5 separate regions of the Homo sapiens genome follow, and all the other regions are linked to region 2. Evidence: promoter capture Hi-C in 16 types of primary human blood cells and fetal thymus (Javierre and others, 2016). All regions are on one chromosome and are shown on one strand. The core of a region is centred on a gene start or on the middle of the fragment in contact, and the rest is flanking DNA. Distances in the headings are between cores, read along the strand shown. Region 1 overlaps MECOM (MDS1 and EVI1 complex locus). Region 2 holds the start of MECOM (MDS1 and EVI1 complex locus). Region 3 overlaps MECOM (MDS1 and EVI1 complex locus). Region 4 overlaps MECOM (MDS1 and EVI1 complex locus). Region 5 overlaps MECOM (MDS1 and EVI1 complex locus).

Region 1 (2,747 bases), core at 178-2,677, 270 kb after region 2:
CAGTCCTCACCAGAGGGCAGTCTACTTAATGTGAGAATAACAGCCCAGTTTTATAAGCCTCTACTGGGAATAAATTCCAGTTTCACTGGTTAGAGCAAGGTTAGGCAGCTAGAGCACAGTCTCTCCTAGGTTACATGTTGGGAGAGACCAAACCAATTCTCAGAGTGTCTTTCCAGGAAATACATTTTATAAGCTTTTGGCACACCAAATTTTGACCACCTTCTGGTTTCTACTATGTAGAACTGGGATTGCTTGAGTGGAATGGACCTGGGGATGAACTTGTCCAACATGCTTATTTTATGGATAGGGAAACAGAGACCCCAAGCAGCTATGACTCTCAGCCTCTGCCTCTCAAGGTTACTCCAGGGTTCAGCAACATATTGACGCAAGCACAACTCCATGCCAGGACTTGTGACCCTCCTGCTTTCTCCAAATGCAAATGGCATAGTTTACAATCCTCCATCTTGACCCATATGGGAGTTGTAAAATATTCTCTATACCTTCCTGATGCTGATATACTTCCTTTCTTGACAATGGTTAGTCCTCAACTAATGTGTCCAGCCCTAAACTAATGTGTTCCGTCATCAGTAAATTCCTGACTGTGATAGTCTTTTCTTAAATACCTGTTTAAACAGTAATTTAGATAAGAATGTCCCATTTGTGTGCAACAGGAAATGCCTGCCTTCTTTTAGATATGCTGGCAAATAATTACTGTAGATATGGCTGGAATACTGAAAGGCTGTACTCTGGTCATTTCAGATTGCCTGAGGAGTAACCACCCAGTCTGCTGCAGCATGAATTCAGGACGGTTCTACTTTCCTCTAAATGAATCTGAAGGAAAATCACTTTGGGGACATAGAAAGCTTATGAAGAAAAAGCCCATCAGGTCCATCAGAGGTTGCTAAAAGTCTCTCAAAAATTTGTACTGGCAAAAGAAAGTAGAGGCACATAGCTAAAACATAAAAGAAAAACTATCTATCTGATATGTGATAAGTCTGTTCTTACCTGGTCATTCCAGTGGATATTGGTGACGGTGGCTCCTTAACAACAGAATAAGCCAAACATTAACCAGCTCATGTTTTCCTTTGGAATAGTACTCACAGAACTTTAATGTCTTTGCGTTAGCTCTTTTAGATTCAGTAACTAGATACCAAATGGCTTTACTGGTACCTCAAGTATGAATTTTCTAGCAATTTCTTTCCATTACCTTTTGACAAAAGCTTAGTTCCATCTCTGAAGAGAAAGTTTTGGAAGAGGCGAAGCCCATTTTTTAATAGCTTAGGAGTACTAGTTTAATTCCCAAATCATATTTATTTAGTGAAATGTCTGTGAAATTCCTAGAGGAGTGGAAAATCTCTTAACCAGATTTAAAAGCCACAGGACATGCAACAGTATGCCGCAATACCAGGAGAAAAATAAAAGTTTGCTCATTGATTTAGTCCCTTATTTTCCATCCGTATCACATTCTTTGCCATCTCCCTTGCTATCTTGCCCCCAATACTTCCATTCTGAGTCTTTTTGACAACTCGTATATGAAATATTTTTAGGAAACACTGGGGAAAAGTTCCATAAGGAAGACATGGAATAGCATGGTACTATGAAGTAGCAAATACTAAAAGTGCAAGGAAGCTTAGAGGGTCATTAAAAAAATTCTAGTGCCAAGCCATGTTGATAGATTATTTCCAAACATAATGGTCGTATCTAGAGACACGGGTTCTACAGATTCAGTCCAGTGTCCAAACACTCCATTTAAGTCTCTTTTCTTCTCACTCCCCTCTGGAGCAGGACATGCTAAAGACTATGCCCATCAGCAGTTCCCATTCTATTCAATGTCTCTGTTTTCTAAGCCTGTAATTCTGCACCCTTGCTACAGTCCTTCACAGCTTGTTTAAGTCAGTTTTCTGGAAATTCATTTTCCCTACTTTTACTAGTTTCCTTTCTTCGTTTCTTTGGGATCTTAAATTTCATTATCTTGGGGCCATTCTCATAGAAGATTTTGCTGGCCAGTTCATAGCCTCCTTCTTTGTTCTGTTTGTGCATCTGGCATTAGTTGAGCTCCACCCTTTTCCCCAAGCCCAGCACGTGTTTATTCACTGTGTTACTGGTGCAGAAGAGCTGGCTCCCGAAGTCCTCTGCTTTCTCACAAACAAGCCTCTGTAACTGCTCTGGAATTGTCCTAACAAGGGAAGAAGAGCATGTCCAGTTTTAATTTTGTAAGGAAATTGATGTCTTCCCCCTCCCTTCCCTGCCGCACTGTTAGCAGGCATCAGCTCATGGACTTGTGCTCATGTGCTCACGTCCTACCAGGAGGTCCCTAGTGGGGCTTTGAGGTTTGGCCGAGCTGTTCTCCTCCTAGAGCAGGGCACACATCCTCCGCTCTCAGCCACGTGTAATCCTTCCTGTCTGCTTGCAAGTTGGGCACAAAGTACTGGCGCTTGGGCCCACCCTCTTCTTTAGTAGCAATTAACCTTTACTACAGAGCTTCCTTTGAAGTTTGCTCATGTTTTTATTACAAAACTGCAATGAGGAACATAATGGGGGGAAATGTCTAAATTTCTGAGTTACCTAATCTGTTCAATTCCCTAGTTGAGCTCCTCTTGGCAGTTGTTTCATGTAGTTATGATCTCAACCAGTCTGCCTGGGATCTCAAATCATGTTTCTGTCTCAGCCTATTTTTAAGATTAGGGAGCTATTACACACACACACCCCTACACACAGATTGCAAATACACATGGATGTGTGTATTA
Region 2 (2,700 bases), core at 183-2,682:
ATACATCTGTCTCCCTTGAGACCTGTAGCTTGGTTCTCCAGGGACCTCTATCTTACAGCCAAATGCCCCCAGAATTACACAGCTCTGGATAAAGGAAAATGGTAGGCATCCTTAACAAGGACAAATTCTTTGAACTTTGATTCTCTTGAATAAAGAGATTTGCAGGCCATTGATACCCTTTGGGGTTGAACCTTGTTATTTGCTCTCTCATGTCTGCAGTCCTAGATTTGATAATAAATACCAACAGGTACGACTGGGCATTCTCAATGATTCCCCTTTCCCTCCACAGCCTTTGCCAAACTCATGCCCAGGACCTGCTTTTCTTTTCCTTTAACTTGAACATCAAGGATGTATTGTTGCAGCACGGAGACTGAAAAGATTGTAATTTTCTTTTATGGTGTCTGGCAGGATTTGCAACAGATATTAATGGGGACATAAATAGCACATGGAAGGTATTGAACAAAACTGTTTAATGCAAGAAGGTTGTACCAAAAGAAAATCTATACCTAGTTGGGATTGATTCATACCTTGTACACAGCTAGCCCCTTTAGGAATTCCCATTTCTGAGTGGCACTTCATTGGTAAATCCTGTAATTAAAGGAAATTTCAACAATGTATTTTTTTAAGAGTGTGTGATTTTCCTCCCTACTCCTCTTTCTTTTGACCCCGAGGTTGTAGGTTTAAGCGAGTGAGTGAAAATGGCAGGCAAGCAGAGCTGCATCGGGAGGCGACCGGGGCAGCAGTGGGGGAGGCCGGAAGGTGACAGCCGACCTCTGAGAAAGCAGGAGGTCTTTGGATGTCAAATGCCAGCGCCGGCCCGGACCCGGGAATCAAGGGTGATCATTACTACTTGGTAGGGAAAGAATACTGAAATGTCCCAAGGATGGCAGCAAGCATTGGTATTACAGCTAAAATCGAGGAAAAAACCAGTTATTTATTCTGCTTACAACCCTGAAAGCGGAAGCTGCAATAGCTTCAGTAGCAGTAGCAGCGGCAGCAGTAGATTTCTCAAGTTCAGGATGATTCTCACTTTCTCCTGGATTATTAGCCGAGGGTCCAGCCCTTCTAGTTCTTTAACAGGAGAAGGGTTTTTAAAAAATGTTTTTAAAGTTTTTTTCCCCCCTGGCTTCTTGCTTCCCTCGTAGATGGTATAGAAAAATGTCTGCAATTTATGGTGGGAAAAACAATAACAATAATCATGATACAAGCTTGTTGGCGATTCTAACATGGAATCAATCCTCTGCCCAAGCCTTTTCAATTCCCCCCTCCCCTTTTTTTGGGCGAGGTGTCTGCTCCCCTCTGGCTCCCTGCGTTCGCTCCCCGCCCCCCGCCGCCCTCCCCGCGGCTCCCTTTCTCCGCCTCCTCGGCGATTGCCATCTGACAAGATCTCCAAATCAAAGTGATAAATCGCTCCAAACTTTTTTTGGCGGCGCTGAGATGTTGGAGGGGCGTCTAGCGCGCATGTGCGAAGGTGTCCAAACTGACAATGCTGGAGAGATAGCGAGTGTGGATTGAGAGAAAGGGAGAGAGGGAGGGAGAGAGAGTGAAAGAAGAAAATACAGAGAGTGAGTGTGTGGAAGAGAGAGAGAAACAGGAGAGAAACAGGAGGGAGGGAGAGAGAGAGAGAGAGAGAGAGAGAGAGAGAGAGAGAGAGAGAGAGAGAGAGAGACAGGAGAGAGAGGGAGGGAGCGAGAGGGAGAGCAAAAGAAGGAAAGGATCCAAGAAAAAAAAGCCCCAACCACACACCAGCGGCTGCAGGACTGGGCACAGCATGAGATCCAAAGGCAGGGCAAGGAAACTGGCCACAAGTAGGTGCAATATCCCTTTTCTATTGGCTTTTCCCCCTCCTCTGCCATCTTGCATATCTGTCTCTAGCGCTCCGGGAGGGAGCGCGGGCTGCCTCTTGCGCCGGGGCCCCGGGTGGAGGGCAGGCGGAGCGCAGCCCCAGCAACCTGCCGGTTCCAGTCTCTGCTCCCGGTCGCCCGCGCTCTCGCTCCCGGGTTGGGCGCCGGAGGAGCCTGGGCAGCCCTCAGTCCCGCGCACCGACCAGCTGTGGCAACCCCGGGGTGGGGGTGGGGGTGGGGGCAGCAAAGACTAGGGGTGGGAGGGAGGAGAGAGCGCGAGAGTGAGCGCGAAGGGGTGGGGTGGGGGGGAAGAGAAGAGGAGAAAGTCTCCCCCTCCCCTCCCCTTCCCCCCAGGCGGGGGAGAGTTGCCTCTGGCCAACCAGCTAGTCCCGGGTGTGGGAGGAGGGGGGCGCGGGGGATGGGGGGCCGGCAGGAGAAGGGAGCCTTTTCGAGCCTCGGTTTGTTTCTGGGGTTTGGGTAGGGTAGGCGGCTCAGAGGGAGCCACAGTGGCGGCGGCGGCGGGCGGCTGTGGTGGACTTGGGAAAAGTTGCGAGGCGGCCGCTGGAAGTTGCGCGGGCGGGCGGGTGGACTGCGCCGAGCCGCGGCTGCGGTAGTGGGCGCTGTGCGCTCGGCCATGCTCTCCGGCGCGGCGCTGCGCGGCGGGAGGACTGCGGCGGGGAGTAGGGGACACCAAGGTGGGGGCTGTGATCGCGGGGTGGGGGCGGGGGCACGGGCAGAGCAGAGCTACCGGCTCCGCACAGCCACGCGCAGGTGGGGAGGAAAGAGGCCCAGCGAGCGCTCGGACGTGGGGAGAGAAGAGGCCCAGCGAGCGCTCGGAGAGCCGGGAGTGGAGGGC
Region 3 (2,700 bases), core at 28-2,527, 500 kb after region 2:
AAAACTTAATGGTTGAAAACAACAGTAAACATTTAGTGTTCTCAGTTTCTATGGTTTAGGAATTCAGGGGTGGCTCAGCTAGCTGGGCAGTTGTGGTCCAGGGTCTCATCAGGTCACAGGGAAAATGGCAGCTTCAGTCACCTAAAAATGGGACTGAGGCTGGATAATTTGTTTTCCAAGGCCACTCTTTCACATAGCTGGCACATCCTAATTGTTCCCCGCATAGGCCTTTCTACAGGCTGCATCATATCCACAGAACATGAATGACAGGGAGAGAGAGAGAGAGAGAGACTCTTCTTTTTTATAATCAAATTTCAAAACTCACATAGCATCCCTTTCTCCTCATTCTGTTTATCGGAAGTGTGTCACTAAGCTCAGCTTATATTCAACATGAGGAGAATTAGACCACTTTTTGAAGAAGGGGAGAGAAAATTTAAAATTTCTTAATATATTTTAAAACCATCACAGATGGGTATTCAGTATATTTATCTTCTCTCTTTACCATCAACGTGGTACCTGGAACATGGAGAGGATAAATGAGTGAATGGTTTGTCTTTAATCTGTGACCAGTATTTTTTTTAATCAGGAAAAAAAAGTCTTTTGTCTTCTTTTAGGTCTGTCCATATCCTCTAAATTCTGAACTGTTGGCTCAGGGAATTTGTAAATATCCAGGTCAGACCCCTTTTGATGGCAGTGTCAAGGTAAGAATGCAAAAATAAGACTGTGCCTCTCTTGCTGTATATAAGGATGCTGAGGCTCAGCTGCCATTGCCAGCACTTATATTAGGGTTGGTCTTCCCAGTAGTGGCAATGATTCCCCAGGATCCATGCATGGTTCAGTTCCCTTATGACTAACTATAGGGTGTGGTATGTAACCAATGGCCAACACAATAGATTTTTTTCATTGGATTTTAAAGCTACTTAAAGGTGGTGACCATGACTTAATCATCAATGTACACTAAATGTCAAATGATGTGCCAGGATATAGAAGATTCCTCATAAATACTTGTGGAGCAAATTGAACTAAGTTGGTTTACGTGTTGAACTCATTGTCCTGCTTTGCAACATAAACTCCCAGCCAGCAGAACCAATTTTTGCACCCAAAATTGAACAGCGTCTACTGAGGTCCTCTGGATTCACACTAATGTTTTATCTTGTATATTGTCCTTCCTTTTCTGTGAATGTTTTGTCTTCTTTTTACCACATTCTGAAGAAATGTATATTTTTAAAACATTTTTAATTTTTAATTTTTGTGGGTACATAGCAGGTGTATGTATTTATGGGGTACATGAGATATTTTGATCCAGGCATATAATGCATAATAATATCATCAGGTTAAATGAGGGTATCAATAACTTCAAGCATTCAGCCTTTTTTTGTTTTACAAACAACTCAGTTATACTCTTTTAGTTATTTCAAAATGTACAATATATTATTTTAGTTATTTTAAAATGTACAATAATATATTGTACAATAATATATTGTACATTTTAAAATAACTAATATATTATTGTTAAATATATAATATATATTTAAAATAACTAATATATTATTATACAATATATTATTGTACATTTAAAAATAACTAAAAGTTACACCCTGTAGTCACCCTGTTGTGCTATCAAGTACTAGATCTTATTCATTTAGCTTACTTCAAATATTGAGGAAAATGTAGTTTAAACATAATTTCTGTTCAAGGTTTATTTTAAAAAACACATATCATTTCTAGCGTAATTTTGAAGATTCTTATTTTTCTTCATTTTTTTTTTATCTGTCTCCAAAAAAATCCTTTCTCAGAAAATGTTTTTCCCCATTCGGATTGCAATTCCTGGCTTAGTGTTTAGACACCATTATGAATTTGTATTCCTATCACTTATTTTGGTTATTCTTCTCTGGCTCTATATGTTTCCATCTCTGTTTCTCAGAAGCAAATTGCTGCCTGAGTGACCAGAAAATAAATTAAAGGGACAAAATATTTGTTTCTCTTTTGATATAAAGATGGCTATATAAAAATCCACCACCAACAAAAAAAACCACAGAGGGCATTTGCATAGGAAGTACCAACGATTTTATTGAGTTAGAACTCCATTTAAAAATAGCTCATGCTTATTAGGTGCTTAGTATGTGCTAGACACTAAATTAAGTGCTGTGCATGGATTACCTCATTTCATCCTCTCAATAGCCCTATGAGATACTTTTTATCATTATACTCATTTTACAAAGGAGGAAACCAAGCTGATAAGTAACTTTACATATGTCACACCCCAAGCACATAGCGAAGCTGTGATTTGAATCCAGGCTGCCCCACTGCAGATTCTGTGTTGTTAGTCACTATCCTAAACTTCTTTTTTAAAATTTTTATTTGGATTTATGCTATCTCTCCAAGTACTGTACTTCTTTATGAGTCTCTATTTACCAGATATTACACTAAGTGCTTTATATACTTCACCTCAATTGTTTAACCCTAATAACTTCTTAGAAGTCCCATTATTGCAATTTTATTTATTTATTTTTTTGAGACGGAATCTCGCACTGTTGCCCGGGCTGGATGCAGTGGCGTGATCTTGGCTCGCCGCAACTTCTGCCTCCCGGGTTCAAGCAATTCTCCTGCCTCAGCCTCCCAAGCAGCTGGGATTACAGGTGCCCACCACCATGCCCAGCTAATTTTTTGTATTTTTAGTAGAGACAGGGTTTCACTATG
Region 4 (2,700 bases), core at 120-2,619, 380 kb after region 2:
ACAAAACCCCATAGAATACCACTTCAGATGCCTCCCCACCCCAATAAGCGTGAATGTGATTTGATTAGTATTTTCTTGTTACTATTAAATGATGGCTCTGCTGCTCGTTTTGGTTCAGGACAAATCAACTGCCAATTGCTAAATATTCTCAAAGAACTAATTTCATTCTGATAGAACCTTTTCAATGTTATATTCAAAAAGCCCATTTTTAACCTTCCAGTGTAGAAATAACTTTCTTATATTGTGAAATGAAAGAAGAAATCAAAATTAAGTTGTGTTTTGGAGAATAAAGAAGAAAGATACTCTTTATGTTGTAGCAATGATTTGTATCAGATTCCTTCTCTAAGATTTGTACTTCTTATATTTATTTTTCTTGCCTATTCCCCAGGTTTTTAGTTCAAAGTAAATTATCAAGATTTTTTTTTTTTTTACTAAAACTTGCCTCTTTCCTCTTTCTCCCCCTACCCCCCAAGTGTAAAACATGGAGAAAGCAGAATTTTCTGTTTTTTCCATAATGGTTCATTTGTATTCTCTGAACCCAAGACTAAGGCAAGTTCTAATGTCTTACTGTTTTATATCACCACTGAGGTAGCAGTGACATGCTGGCTGCTGATGAATAAATATATTTATCTGGCTTCTAAACCTGCTTACACTGTTGAATAATGAGCAGATGTTAACAATTACTCTAAATGTCTTGGATATTTTGTAAAACTTTTATCAGACTTAGAGTGGTTTATTGATTTAGTCAGAATCATGCCCTGGGCACAAAACATATTGTCGTATGGGATTCAACGTGGGCGGAATGCATGTCCATTAACATTTTAAACTCCTATACAAGGGCCCTGCTTCTGGAACCTTCTGAACAGTAGGTATCTCTAATATGTTCTTGCTCTTCCTGCATAAACCAAAGCATATTTATTGACAATTTTTTTACGGCCTCACTTTTAAGGATACAACAATTGTATCCATAAAATACAATTCCTAATTGTACAAATAATTAGGAATGAAAAAAATGAATATAGGATTTGAACACCAGCTTCATGCATTTCAAGTAAACATTACAATCCAGCACAGTAACAACTACCCATGTTTGTTTCTAAAGTAAATCAACAAAAATCTATATTCCCATTTCTCTGGAATTATGCTTTGTTTTTTATTTTTTTAATAACATCAAGCCATTTTAGTTGAATGATACAGAAAGTCACTTTGAATTCAAATATAAAATAAGGTCATCCATCATGTTAACAATTTAATTACCTGAGTATATATTTTTCCAGCAAAACAAAAAAAACATTATTTGTTGTGTATCTTATTACTGAGCTGTTGCCTCAGGACAGCTTGGCTGTCAGTGGACAGGCCCTGTGGTAAGCAATGGTGAGATAGGGAGCAGATAAGCCTGGCAGTCCTCTGCCTTTCTTTCAGGCCCTCTCCATCCGTGTTTCCTGGAGGCCTTACCTGTTAGGGTCCTTGTAATCTTTGTGGCAACAGTGAAATGGTGACTTGTAAAGGCAGCGAAGCATGACAGAGAGAGAGAAAGGGTCGAATGAAATAGAAATGTGATATTTTCTATCTTCGGAGGGCCCAGGAAATAGGACTCCAGCTGCCGAGCTGGGGTTTGGCATTCAGTATCACACCGAGTACAAGGAATGTTGTGAGATTTATTATTTAGGACTCATGGAAGAGGCAAATTAAACAATGCACTAGTTTCTCTTATTGTTTAAGTAGCTGCCTTCCCAGTGATTTCAGATAAAGGTATAAGTTCAGCACTGAGGAAATGAGATCAGAATAAGGGAGGCAAATTGGAAAAGAACAGCTTCTGGGTTCTTCTCGGGGCGTTGGAATTGCCGGGCTACCTCCCTTTTGAGGACTCACCAGGTAGCAGGCAAATGTCTGTAATGTGGGTCTGTTGCTGTTTGCTTGTTTGTTTTTTAATTGTACACCCTGACTCCTACAAATACCTATAACAACACAACCTAATACGTTGATCATATAGCAACAATCCTTTCTAATCTAGGGAGTGGTGGACATAAAAATGGCAAGGAATTTTTTGTCCTGCTTTTACAATTTTATGCACTATGGTGGTTGGCAGTTTTATTTTGGCCTGATTCCTTGCAGGGAGCGTTGTCAACCGTGGAAGACAGAAAACAAAGACCAGACTTAAACCAACCATTAGTACATGCTGCCTGTTTCCTGGCTGGATAATGTTACAAGAAGGGAAGGTATTCTATTCTTACTCAGGCTCTGCATCGAGGATAAGTTTTGCATTTCAGAGTGGAAGACTAATAAGTGATAGAGACAACAGGGCTTGGTCAACAACTTGGGTATGAATCACCCAGGTAGCAGAGGGGGAAGCTGCCTAGAAGGAAATCTTTGCTTCTGAACCTCATCCAGGCAGCCCTACTGGGTCCCTCTCTCATTTAACCTGAGAGAACTTAGTTCAAGAAATACGTTCATTCTGTTCTTGCCTCAAGAAGAGCTACTGATCATTTTATGGTTAAACAAATCCACAGAAGTTTCTTCGAAGTGAATTTCACTGTGGATGATTCAGAAATTGCTGATGATGGCAAGGAGAGGGTAGATTTTCTTATGGGTTCCTTGATAACTTTACAAATGCATCTGATTTTCACAGCGAATGCATGTTTTCATAAATGGAAACAAATAAAACAGTAGGCAAGGGCTTTTTCAAATGCTTGCCAAGTA
Region 5 (2,724 bases), core at 103-2,602, 430 kb after region 2:
CTCACCATAGGTTGTAAGTAACTTGTTAGTTTATTTACATTTACTTGTTATGATGTGCCTCTCCCTTCTTGTCCTGCCAGAATATAAGTTCCTGAAAGTCAAGAAACTTGTGAGTCTTGTAGACTTCCTTATCCCCAGTATTTAGCCTGGTGTCTGGTGCAAGTAGGTGTTGAATAAATGTTTTATGGGTGAATGAATGCATGAATGAAAAAGTGAATAAATGAAAGAATGAACAACATGTTTACTTTATGCATGCACTACATTTGAGAAGCTTCCAATTTTATTCAATAGACACAACAAAAGGAAAAACAGAAAAAGACTACAATTGTAAGAAATTGGAGAGATCAAGACTATAGATGCAATAACATCCAGAATTGTCAAAGATTTTATTTCCACCAAGAATATTTTGGGAATCTTTTGTAGAGGGCATGCTTCTTATGATGAATGAAGGATGAGAGAAGAGAGAGTATTTAAACAAACGTCTATGAATGGCAAGTTAATAAAAGTGAAAGTTAAAAAGACAATATATTTTCTATTTGTGTTGTTATTTTGATAATAACAAAGTTATGATAAAGTGGGGGAACCATTGAAGATCTTATGTGAGGGGAATGGGGGCAAGATAAACAATTCTGTATGTTGCGGCAACTATTCTTCTCCATTGTGAAAGTGAACCAATGATTGACCTTCAAAATGACCATCTAGGAAATTTAAAAATTGAAGTAGGCTTGGGTAAAAGTCAGACCATGGGCCATGAAAGGTAGAAGCCTCTTTTCTGCTCTTCAGCAGAAATCTTGAGGCTAAACCTATTATTCCTACTGCTGTGGGTTCTTTCAGAGCAGAATTAAACCATTTCAGAAAATAGTTATATGTGTGAGTTGGAGTTCAGAGGAGAAAACTTACTTTAGAGCTTGATATTTAAAAGATACTTGTTATGCATCTTTTTAATAAATCAATAACAAAATCGAGAATTAAGTCATAATGAACTGGTATCTTGGAGATACATTCAAACTTCCATTAGGAAGACTGGCCTATTTATAAAATCTGCCCACTTTTAACCTGGTATCTCAAAGAAAAGCTAAGGTCAGCTGTATAAGTTGAAATCACTGCATTATTATAACATCAAGGAGGCAAGATGCTTCATATCCCATGTATCTCAAGAAAGAAAAAAGCTGGCTAAGTTGATAAAGGGAACTTGCAATCCAGAACCTTTTTTTTTTCTTTTTGGCACTAAAAGAGGAAATTTAGAGAAAAGCCAAGATGGTAGACAGAGGTCTCAAAGTTCTGGCCTGGAGGGAAATGAGGTGAACATAGGAGTTAGTGGCTTATGAGAAGAGGTAGCTGCCTCAAGACACCTGAGAAATTTTTTGTAAACATAGAAGTAAATCCAAAGAGAGTATTTGTATATTCAAGTATTATCCCTAAATAGCCCCCTGAAGTATTCTTCCTTGACATTGGAGTAAAGAAAGATAACTCAAAAATGCAATTAAGTCTGCTGTTTGGCATTTTTAATCTTCCTTTATTTGGAATTTTCTTTGTTTAGTTTTATTTTGGTTTAATCAACTTGATGTTGCAAGTATTTTTTACCCACATTATATTATGACATGAAAAAACATTGTAGCTGAAAGAATAGAGAAATAACCCATGAAACTGATTAGGAAATCATAGTCTCTTATATTAGTGTGTTTTAAAGCATAATAGCACCTGGTTGTAGAGGCTTCTGAAGTGCAGAGAATCTCACACTCATGAGTGCTATCTTGAGGGCATATTCACAGTAGCCACCTTATCCAAGCCACTCAGATACTTTGGGCTTAGCTTTTAAAAATGACCTGCAGGAGGGGACCAGGGCCATTGAAAGTAGTAGAAACAGAATTCACAACCAGAATCCAGACCTCATTCAGCTCAATGGGCCTCTTTCATCTCTAAGGACCCTCACCTAACTCCCTGGCTAGTGACCATCACTGACCCAGGATAGTAACCTCGGCCCCTCCATGGATTTAAGATTAAGCCTTGCCAGTCCCTGGAAACTCTGATCAGAAGACCAAGCAGCAAGTTTCATGACTGACCAGAGAATATAATTTCTCAGTCTCATAAGCCTTTGGGTTCAGAAATTTTAGTTGAGATGCTCTTGTGACTTATTTGGTGTCTGCTGGCTGCCTCTCCACTTGCCCGTTTGGTAGTCACCAACCATCTCACATGCGTGGATGGCACTTTCTAGCTAAACTTAATCACAGTCCCAACAGGCCTAAGGAATCTCTTCAGTTCCTGTATAAGGAGTTGGTAAGGTTGGCCTTTTCTTTACAGCAGAGCAGATTTTTATGGAACCCCTCTGGAAGATTTTACTGTAAGTAAACGGACCATTGACTAGAAAGCCAGAACCAGTGTTTCCAAGCCAGTGCAGTTAACACTCATGTATATGTGAGTGTGAAAAGCTTGGGCCATATAATCAGCATTATTTTATCAAGTGTTTTTGTGTTTTATTTTAAAAGCTTTGAATAACATCTTCACTGTGTCCATTGTTATCACACCCAGTGAGCCAAAATATCAGTGCATACAGTGAGCTCCAAGAGTGGCCCAATTTGGGATTTAAAAGGTGTGTTTGAGTTAAAAGCATAAAAAGCCTTAAACTTTTAAAACTGCAGACTATTGTATCCTTCTAACTCCAGAACAGCTCCGTCTAATGCTGTCCAACTTGGCAATAAAAACAAAATGAAGAAAGCCGAAACA

What was found. The method cuts DNA at HindIII sites, captures the fragments that hold promoters and counts their contacts. A CHiCAGO score of 5 or more calls a contact.
Region 1: a fragment that was not itself captured here is called in contact with the fragment with the promoter of MECOM in region 2 in 2 of 17 cell types (megakaryocytes and endothelial precursors); the score reaches 7.2 in megakaryocytes.
Region 3: a contact is called between a fragment that was not itself captured here and the fragment with the promoter of MECOM in region 2, in 2 of 17 cell types (fetal thymus and endothelial precursors). The highest score is 5.8, in fetal thymus.
Region 4: a fragment that was not itself captured here is called in contact with the fragment with the promoter of MECOM in region 2 in 1 of 17 cell types (endothelial precursors); the score reaches 5.6 in endothelial precursors.
Region 5: a fragment that was not itself captured here is called in contact with the fragment with the promoter of MECOM in region 2 in 1 of 17 cell types (endothelial precursors); the score reaches 6.4 in endothelial precursors.

The regions. Positions count from the first base shown.
Region 1 is chr3:169,387,703-169,390,449 of GRCh38, reverse strand. The region is part of intron 1 of MECOM (MDS1 and EVI1 complex locus); the gene reads left to right. Among named protein-coding and RNA genes, the nearest start is that of MECOM-AS1, 59 kb to the left of the region's middle. The HindIII fragment of the contact is 409 bases long and covers 1,223-1,631 here.
Region 2 is chr3:169,662,444-169,665,143 of GRCh38, reverse strand. It overlaps MECOM (MDS1 and EVI1 complex locus), which reads left to right and starts at 1,432. Exons shown (of 17, transcript NM_004991.4): 1 at 1,432-1,808. The coding sequence starts at 1,772. RefSeq lists a silencer at 2,441-2,540. The HindIII fragment of the contact is 2,702 bases long and covers 1,211-2,700 here.
Region 3 is chr3:169,159,373-169,162,072 of GRCh38, reverse strand. All of the region lies in intron 2 of MECOM (MDS1 and EVI1 complex locus), which reads left to right. Among named protein-coding and RNA genes, the nearest start is that of LINC01997, 160 kb to the right of the region's middle. The HindIII fragment of the contact is 3,396 bases long and covers 1-2,700 here.
Region 4 is chr3:169,285,959-169,288,658 of GRCh38, reverse strand. The region is part of intron 2 of MECOM (MDS1 and EVI1 complex locus); the gene reads left to right. Among named protein-coding and RNA genes, the nearest start is that of MECOM-AS1, 160 kb to the left of the region's middle. The HindIII fragment of the contact is 5,133 bases long and covers 1-2,700 here.
Region 5 is chr3:169,228,741-169,231,464 of GRCh38, reverse strand. All of the region lies in intron 2 of MECOM (MDS1 and EVI1 complex locus), which reads left to right. Among named protein-coding and RNA genes, the nearest start is that of MECOM-AS1, 220 kb to the left of the region's middle. The HindIII fragment of the contact is 2,158 bases long and covers 274-2,431 here.